2 separate regions of the Homo sapiens genome follow, and region 1 is linked to region 2. The links are contacts of gene promoters, found by promoter capture Hi-C in blood cells and fetal thymus (Javierre and others, 2016). All regions are on one chromosome and are shown on one strand. Each heading gives the region's core, a stretch centred on a gene start or on the middle of the fragment in contact. The rest is flanking DNA. Distances are from core to core; before and after follow the strand shown. Region 1 has its middle 97 kb from the start of RANBP3L. Region 2 holds the start of SLC1A3 (solute carrier family 1 member 3).

The links. Contacts are between HindIII fragments. The CHiCAGO score rates a contact against its expected background, and 5 or more counts as called.
Region 1: a fragment that was not itself captured here is called in contact with the fragment with the promoter of SLC1A3 in region 2 in 1 of 17 cell types (M2 macrophages); the score reaches 5.0 in M2 macrophages.

Annotation. Positions count from the first base shown.
Region 1 is chr5:36,396,176-36,401,258 of GRCh38, reverse strand. No RefSeq gene overlaps it. Among named protein-coding and RNA genes, the nearest start is that of RANBP3L, 97 kb to the right of the region's middle. The HindIII fragment of the contact is 698 bases long and covers 1,513-2,210 here.
Region 2 is chr5:36,604,697-36,609,411 of GRCh38, reverse strand. It overlaps SLC1A3 (solute carrier family 1 member 3), which reads right to left and starts at 2,806. Exons shown (of 10, transcript NM_004172.5): 1 at 2,677-2,806; 2 at 808-1,083. The coding sequence starts at 988. RefSeq lists an enhancer at 2,600-2,699. The HindIII fragment of the contact is 8,493 bases long and covers 1-4,715 here.

The DNA of each region.
Region 1 (5,083 bases), core at 612-3,111, 210 kb after region 2:
GGCATTAGTTATCCCGTGTGGCTCTGGAGAAGAACAAGGAGCAGTAAGTAGAAGTTGTAGGGAAGTAGAGTTTAGATCAATGAAAGGAAGTTGATGATTGAAGCTCTTGAAAATGAAGTGGCCTCCACTATGTGGCAGGGAGCCATATTTGTATGTCTGTCATTTGAGAGCCACAATGAAGAGGTTATGTTAGTTAATCAACCGCTTTATGTATCCCACATTTATTGACATAATATGGGGGTAGTAGAAAGAGTCCTGGACTTGGAATCAAACCTGGACTCAAAATCCTGGATCCCTTACTTACTGTGTGGCCATGGGAATGTAATTTAACCTTTGTAAGGTTAGTGTGATAATTGAATAGATAGCATATGTCATCATCTGGCGCTGAGCAGGTAGCACCTGCTCATATGCATTTGCTCCCTGCTGCTTTCTTCTGTGTCTGGCATTGTTCTAGCCATCAGGAAAATAAGGATGAGTAAGACACTGTGTCTCCCCTCCAGGAGCTCCCCAAATAACAGTGGGAGACAACCAGCAACACAAATATGGCTTGAAATTGTAGTTGGTGTAATATAGTGCAATGTGGAAAGGCTAAAGGAGGCCCAGGATCGGGAGGGACTTGCAGGTCTCTGGGAGCTGATGTTTTCTGTCAACTCAGGCTCTTGGTCCTGTCATTTGAATTCTGCTTTCCAACTTGGAATAACTTCCCATCACTGGGAAATGCTAAGGGGCAAAGAGAAATTGTGCTATAAACCAAAGGTAAAATTCCCCTTAGTTATTTGTTTCTTTGAATCCATAAGCCCAGCAAAAGTTTTCTGAGCACCTACTGATGCCAGGCAGCAGCTTGGAATGTGGGACTAATAGACACAATTCTTGGCTGCATGAGGTCCACAGTCTAACTAGGGAGACAGGCAGAGATGGATAAATACACTCAGTCCACAATACCCTAATGTCCATTTCAACCAACAATGTCTTCTTGCTGTTCCACATTATTGTTAGATTTAATATCCTGGGCCAGCAAAACTCACTTTGGCCAACATGGCACTCCCTCTTCTAATGATGCTAAACTCACAATAGAACTTTTTTATTCATGGTTTGGTTCAAAAACTTTATTCTTGGAGCTTTATAATAGTACTATTCAAACTCTTTTGATAATGTATTTTTCTTAGTAAATAATCTTTGAACTTACATATATATATATAAGTTCTTTATATGTATGGCTACTATTAACTAACTTCTCAAGGCACAATATGCACTGCAGGCAAGGTCATCATTAGCAACAACATTTATCAATCTGTATATTAAATCGTCTTGATTACTTCTATTTTAGGACATTCAATTAATTATTAGATGTTATGAGTTGGTCATTTTTTTTCTTTGTATTGTTTCTGAAAGGGTCACATTAGGAGTAAATGAACCTCTGCCATTGTATTTTGATAAGTTTATGAGATCGCATTATTGCAAATATCTTCAACCCACAGTTCCATGTGGAACTCCACTTTGTGAAGACAAGCTTAGTTAAAACAAGATGATGCATTTGTGGAGTCACTTAACTGGGCACACAAAAACTGCAAATGTCTCAGCAGCTCCAAAGCAGAGGAAGGATGAAGGGTGGCTGCCAACCCCACTGCTTTGTGGAAGTTCCACACCTTGCTGAGGACACCTCATGCCTCTCATAGGATCCTGACCTGCTGACGTACAGACAGAATATGTGAGAAATACAGGTAAAGTTGGTTGGTTTTCAAATTTTAGATAAACAGAAATAGAAGTTCCAATTTTTTCTTTCTGCTTCCTGCTGGATGATCTTGTGCTCCCTCAGAGCATATGCTACACACTTGGAGCCGACTCTCCAGTCCATCTTGTTAAAATAAGCAGCTCCACACACAGACTGTGCTCAACAGTAGCCCCCTTGCTTGCCCAGGAACACCATAGAGCTCAGGTGTGTTTCTGCTGTTTCTAATGTAGAAGCATTTTTATGAATGATGGGAAATTTGCTAGTCTTTTCTTATTCCCTTTGTCAATTGCAATTCAGTGTCCAGGAATTATTACCTGATATAAAAATTAAAAATGAACTTCATAGTTTAAAAAAGACATTTTTTAAAAACTCAACTTTGTGGTGGGGGGTAGAGGGAGGGAAGTGAAGGAAAAAGGGGTAGTTCCCTTGACACAGTTTTGGGGTCCATTTTCACGAGAAGAAAAAGGAAAGACAAGCTTTGTACATTAATCATTATATAATATCAAAACATTATTTTATATTAAAATACTCTTGCCATTTAACTCTATACACAAGAACTAAAAATCATTATTTTAGTGAAAGAGAGATGTAGTTCTATATATTCTTTTGTCCTCCTCTATCCCTTTTAGAATGCATCTAGAACAAGCATTCTTAATCTTTTTTGTACCATAAACCCATAGCTGTTTCGTTGTAAACTATAGACAACTTCTCAAAATATTCTTTGTGTGCCAAATATTAATAATATATATAGATTTTCAAAGAAAACCAATTATGCTGAAATATTCAAAAGTCATAAGGTTAAAATAGCAAATATATGAAATACTAATGCACGTGTTTTATACTAACTCATTAAGTAACGAGATCTAATGACAGGTCTATCAGAATTTCAAAGTAATGGTGAGTGTAAACAATACTTTTTGATATCTGCAATAATTATAATGTGATTTTTTAAATCTATAATTTCTACTGTTGACAACATTACTAATAATACTACTATGGTTAGTTGTCCATATTCATAATTGAAGAAAATCCTAAATATTAAATAGCAGTTTATAGAAATAAAAATGCAAGATTTTGCCCATCTAACTTCATGTACCCCTGGCCTTCTCAATAGTGGACCAAGGGAACTAACTTGTGGGTGTAATAGTCACATGCTTTCCAGAAGGTGTCAGACTTGCATTTTGGAAAATTGAAATCTACTTCCTTCTCTAATCCCCCCAAACCAACAAGTCTCCTGACTCACTTTCAAGATAGGTAATCCAGCAGCTGGAATCATTCAAAATTAGATGAAATATGCTTATTTCAAAGACAGACTAAGCACTTCAACAAAACAAATTCTACAAGGGCTAAGAAAGTGCTGTTTAAATGAAGAAGTTTTATAGCAAAGAACCGTCTAAAGAAACAGAATTGTTTTCCGGTCTTTTCAGTATGAAGAAAGGATTTATGTTGTCAGCAAGGATAGACATTGTGAAGTTTCTGAAAATACATCACAGAAAACTTATGGCTGAAGATAGATAATTTATATCCTCGTAGGAGTCCATACAGAGGAGGATTATAGAACAGAAGAGATACTGAAAATCCAGGCTATAGGCAGAGGCTTCTGGATACAAAGCAGGGATTAGGCTATGGCTCTTCCTTTCATCTGAGAATTCTTCACACTCTTCCGGAAAACAAAAGAATTTATTGGAAATCCAGTGCACGGAGTGAAAGATGCTTCCTAAAGAAGTCACTGTTCTTTTATGAACTACATGGGCTTCTAACATATCTAAGGCATATATTATGAATTATTTAGTGGATTTTCTTACATGAATGGGTAATCTACAAATGGGTAGATTCTGATTATGCATGTTGAATTTTGGGGAACTACTTCCCTTTCCCCCTGATTTTTGTATTACAATTTCTGACTGATCTTCATTTGAAAATGAGCCCTGTAATGGTCTGCACTGTTGTTCCAATGATCTGCTGACTCTAGAAAGGACTAATGTCAACTAATGTCAAGCTTGGCCAAGTGACTTGATTTGTTAATGAAATCTAAGCAGCAAGTGACGTGTCAGGCCCAAGCAGAAGTTTTAATAGTCACTGAGTATCTCTGCCATCTCTTTTTCTTTTTCCTCTGCCTTAGGAATGATATATCCCAGATCAAACTGCTTCTTAAGCTCGTGTTATGGAAGAAAAAGACATATGCAACATAATGGCAGCTCACTGCAGCTGAAGTAATATAAGTAAGGAAAAAGCCTTTATTGCTTTAGGCTACTGATGTTTGGAGGTTGGTTGTTTCACAACAAAGCATAGCAAAAACTGATTAATATAGACTCTAACTCTTTAATTTTCCATTTTCTCCCTCCCTTTCCTGGTTCAAGTAGTTATTTTATTATTTTTTTGTTTGAGAAGGAGTCTCCCTCTGTTGCCCAGGCTAGAATGCAGTGGCTCGATCTCTGCTCACTGCAACCTCAGCCTCCTGGATTCAAGAGCTTCTCCAGCCTCAGCCTCCTGAGTAGCTGGGATTACAGGCATGAGACACCAAGCCCGGCTAATTTTTGTATTTTTAGTACAGACAGGATTTCACCATGTTGGCCATGCTGGTCTTGAACTCCTGATCTCAAGTGATCTGCTTCCCTCGGCCTCCCAAAGTGCTGGAATTACAGGCATGAGTCACCGTGCCTGGCCTCAAGTAATCTTGATCTATAAACAAAACAAAAAGACAAATTTATTATGAGTGGCTCTATTTAACAACCACTTCTAAAATAAATAAGAAGGCAAAATCTTATCTTTCTCCTTCTTCAATCTTTCTGTTTCTTTGAAGTTTTATTTGCTTGCTTTTTTCCCCCCAGTCACTAAATCCCATCTGTTAGTGTGTGATTGGCTGTGGAAACTTTCTGGGTTCTTGTCAAAGAGAACATAACTATTTTATTTGGGGACAAGTTGCTGGCTCCTAGAAAAACCTTCTAGATCTCTTAAACTGGGCAGTCACAGTCTTGCTCTTTTTTCTATCATCTATATCTATAAGTCTATCTAAAGATAGACTTTTTTTATAAAGAGACAAAATTTCACTGACTGTATGTTCTAAATTTCAAGGCAGTCCCTATTTCAAATATCTCATCTTATTGACTCAATGGTAAGCACAAGCACCCAATTTTTTCTTCTAAGAATGCTTTAAGAAAATGTATGATTTGGCCAGGCACGGTGGCTCATGTCTGTAATCTCAGACCTTTGGGAGGCCAAGGTGGGCGGATCACTCGAGGTCAGGAGTTCGAGACCAGCCTGGCCAACAGGTGAAACTCTGTCTCTACTAAAAATACAAAAAAATTAGCCAGGCGTGGTTGGGGTGTGGGAGGCTGAAGTCACAGCTGC
Region 2 (4,715 bases), core at 1,557-4,056:
TTGTCAATCTAAGGATTTCTGTATTGGTTTGGTCAAAAATTCCAAATAAGTAGGTTTTTTCAGCTATATTTTAAAGTAGGATCAATGCCACCCATAAGTAATAAACTATAACTTTTAAGATCAATAAACAAAACAAAACAATAATATTTTATTAGTACAGATTGCTGTCAACCCTGCTAAATTAGTAAGAGATGGAAATGATTCAAAAAAAGGTATAGCTGGTTATGGCAGGCTCTGCAAAGCAATGAATGAAAGAGATCTGTGTTAACATTTTCCCCAATCTACCTTTCCCAGTTGCTGGGTGAGAGAGTGCAAACACATAAAATATTCGGTCTCTGTGCCTAAGCGTTGATACTCAGCTTCAAGTCAGCACCAGTTAGAATATAATTACTATTTGGAACCAACATGTCATTTTAGGTGTACTAATTGTATAAATTAGTTTTAAGTGCAACTGACATTGTATATAATTACATTTTGGCCAAATCTAGCATGCTTGCTTTGTCATGCCTAATGATTAAATGATCACTTCCTTATCCTTACATGAAATGGGAAAATATTTTATTTATTTTTCTTCCTCACACAATTGATTTGCATAATGCCTAATGATGCCTAATGATGTGTTTACTATATATTGCTCCAAACAAGCCAAAACAGTCATTTTTATGGAGAAAAATCATCAAGTTCAGAGGAAAGCCTAGGCTACCATTTTGATACCTACAACTAGTTCATCTGATAATATTCCCCGGGCAGCCAGATGCCCCAGAGAAACAAGATACAGGTTTTTTTGTTTTTAATCAAATGACTCACCCACAATGACAGCGGTGACTGTGAGCAGCACAAAAGCATTCCGAAACAGGTAACTTTTAACATCCTCCTTTGTAATGTTCTGCACTTTCTTCTTGGCCAAAAGTGTGCGTTTACGGACTCCCTGCTGGAATCTCTCCATCCTGCCCCCCATCTTGGGCTCTTCTCCATTGCTTTTAGTCATATTTTACTTTTCTAGGAGGGTCTCTTCTTTGCACTTCAGTGTCTGGGAATCACCCACAGAAAGCCAAACCTCCTCTTTGGTATTAGAAAACACAACTAGAATGGGAGAAAAAGAGACATGAGTTATAGCCTCCAGGGGTGAGAAATCAGTGCTGCTCCACACCAGGCAAGCTCTTGGCAAATTGCATAATCTCAGCAGGAATCAAGGACTGGAGAGCCACAATACCAGACCTCAAGGTTGCAGTGTGCATATTTTAGTGGACCACGTGTGAGAAATGTGCATAAATTCGGAATATATTCTATTTTCTTTTTAAAAATCCGTCCTTCCCCTTCCAATGAGGCTATAAAAGGGTTCTTCAGAGCTAGATCTGACTGAGAACCCCTATTCCCACCCTCCCCCGCAGAACCCAGCTGATGCCTTGCACAACGTACACAATCAGTAAATGTCCAATTGAACTGAATGCACAGAAAGTATTCAATCATTACTTGACAAATTATGCTGTATACATGGTTGAAAGCATAACCAGGTCAATAAAAATAATTAAGATACTGATAGGTGGGAGTTGTCTCTGTTACATGCAGTAAAGTAACCAGCTATTTTCTTCATTAAGAAAAAAATATAATAATATCTACTAGTAAATATGGTCATAAAAAGAACACAAGTGCCCACAGTACATGGGAAATACATGTGACTATTTTACAGGGTAATTTTTTCATTTTTTTTCCATGAAATAAGCAAAGTGCTCTGGGCACATCTATAAATCATCTGAAATCACAATTCAGCTTCGTTTATCACAAGTAGAAGTATGAAGTAGTGTTTTTCTTTGTGACACACATGCTGGAATCTTCCGAGGAAACTATCGCTGACTTTTTAGCGTTTTAAAATTTAGGATTTCTAGAACAGATGAGATGAAACCAATTTTCATTCCAAACATTACAGCTTGTGGTTTCTGGTTTCTTTAAAGCACTCACGCTATTTAACTACATTTCAGTAAATCTCTTTCCTGGTGGAAATCAGCTGTTCTGAAAAATCAAGGGATTCCTCCTGGTGCTTTACAGGAGCTCTAATCCATAGCCCTTCCCATAATCAATCCGAGTGAAAACCAGCCGTACCATGGATGTGTGTCGCTGCCAACGCAAGCAGCCAGCGTGTGCGCCTGTGGGGGAGGTAACTGGAAACCAAAGGACTCCTCGCAAATGACTTCTCGCAATCCCAGTGCAGGAAAAAAAAAGACTTGTCTTAACAGTTTGCCTTTTAAATAAAATTGCAAGTTGGGGTCAGTGATACTAAGACTTCTAATTTGTTTAAGACTTCACACTGGATTAAATGCTTAGGGAGAAGTGAAGACCGGGAAATAGGAGAGACCAGATTTTTTTTTTTTTTAAACTAATAGCTCTGATTCCTCTTACCAGTCACTTTTAAGCAGATCCGCTCAACCTTGATCCTTTTCTAGATCTCGCGCCACAATCTGCCCCCAATCCACCCCGAATGACTCAACTCCGAATTAACAGCGGACCCGGCATAAACAGACACCACACTCTCACGACGTGAGATGACTAACAAGGACTTTATCTACCAAAATGGCTAGCCTTGATTCAGGCTACTCCTCTGCTTGGAAGGCAAAATACATCGGCAGAGAAGTGAAAGGAGAAATTAAACCCAGCAGGAACACAGAATGTGACACTTACCTTTTCTGATTTTGTAAGGGGTGGAAGATATCAAGCAGTAACGAGGTGAATTCCCCAGCAGGTACAACGGAGCAACAATCCGCAGCGCGCGTAAGCAGGCAGGCTAGCCCTGACAGTGTGCATGTGCTCTGAAACTGCAAGTTACTATCAGGGCAACTTAAGAAAAGGGGAGGAGTCTGTGCCCGGGAAAGGAGGAGTGGGGAATGGAAACCGCACAGGGAGGAGGGGGAAACCCCGAGGTTTCTGGAATATTGATTAATCTTGGCACACCAGAAGCAGGCTTGCTGGCTTTGTTTTGCTCCTTAGACCACTTTCACGCTTTGTCAGTTCACTGTCATTAGAAATGCAAAACCGGGACTAGGAAGAATTGAAAAATAAAGCGCACACAATCGGAAAGCTGAAAGTCTTGATTAGAACGTTTCAAAGACTTTTCTAAGGCTAAATTTAATTACCTCACATTATTGCATGTTTCCTCCCTTTCAGGGAAGACGAGGGTGTGCTCTTTAGCCTGGTTGTACAACTGTTACGAGAAAGTTCCTTTTTCGAATCGGGGAATTAACTGACGTTTCTTGGGAAGACACTGAATGCAGACAAGTATGTAGAAAAAAAATAATGCTTACTACGATTCTCTAAATTTGTCTAAAGTTAGGGACATGCCTCTATTTCAGCAGTTGAAACTTCAAAACTTCATTTTAACAAACCTAATTTAGCTCACACTGCCTGTGTTGCAAAGACGGAAAAGGTAGCAAATGTAAAGAGACTGGAATTTTTGCCAAACTAGAAAATGAAAAGCATTTTAAGACCAAGAGTGCAAAGTACACTTGAGATTTGGTGATTCAAAAGATAGGTTGCTGTTCAGATGTCTCCATTTTAAAGGATGCTAAATGTTCTCCCTACCACACACAACTTTTTTAGAGCTAAAAAATTCTCATTGCCTTGAGAAGGTAACTTGAGCTTCTAGTCCACTTTTCTTAAAAGAAAAATAAATTGTGAAAATAGATATTAGAAAATAAAAAAAAATTTTTTTGAGGTGACTTATTCCCAAAACTTAAATCTTCTTTAGAAGGAAGAAAATGGTTCATTAGAAACAAAAATTTATACCAGAATCACAGCCTGAGGTTTGGATTCTTGTTCACTGAATTTAATATTCCCCATGCAAAATATGCTCAATTCTTGGTCTATTATTCAACAAGAAAGTATGTCTTTTTTCCCCTCAATACAAATCTCTGGAGATCATAAAGAAATATCTCCTTTCACCCTCAACTGTATGTCCTTTTAAACAGCTACTGGTTGGAAAGCAATGGTGAATCATGTCAATGCTTTAAAATTACAAATCAGCAGCAATTATAACAGCTTTCTAACATGCTATCATTTTAAGAACTTACTGAAAGTACATGCTTTTGACATTCCCAGCCCTCAGTGACCCTTCCCTTCCTCTGATCTCCTAGGTCACTGAGCATCTATACTACATTGTTTAGCACTTAATTATACCATGTTTTGTACTGCATCCTTCTTTTTAAGCTCATGTTAAGTTTTGGTTTCTCAACTAAATTATAAGTTCTTTGAGGGCAAGAACTTGTCTTATACCTAATACAGAGTCAATATTAAGTAACTCTTTTTAAGTGGGTGGAATAATATTAGGATGTGAAACAAAACGCTTTTCAATCTTTTGTGTTAAAACACAATTACTAGTTTTTACATTGGTGCCTCTGGTTTAGGTGCATGGAGCCATTTCTCAATGCCATGACTACTTTTAAAAGCATTTATTTACTATACCAGGTCCTATCTGAGCCATGAGTTTAGGATTAATTTGCACACCCCCCCCCCCCACCGCTTTTTTTTTTTGGTGGAAATGACTTTGACTTGTATTGCAAGGGAACTCGAAAGAGAAATCTGATTTTAAATGGGGTTTCAAGCCCAGTGGCATTTCCATTTTTTGTTTTTATTTTTGTTAATAGGCAAGAAAAAGGGCTGGAAAACCACACTTTGGTTAGCATAGAGATGGGAAGACCCTGGTGCCCTTTCTTTTTCACTTTTTT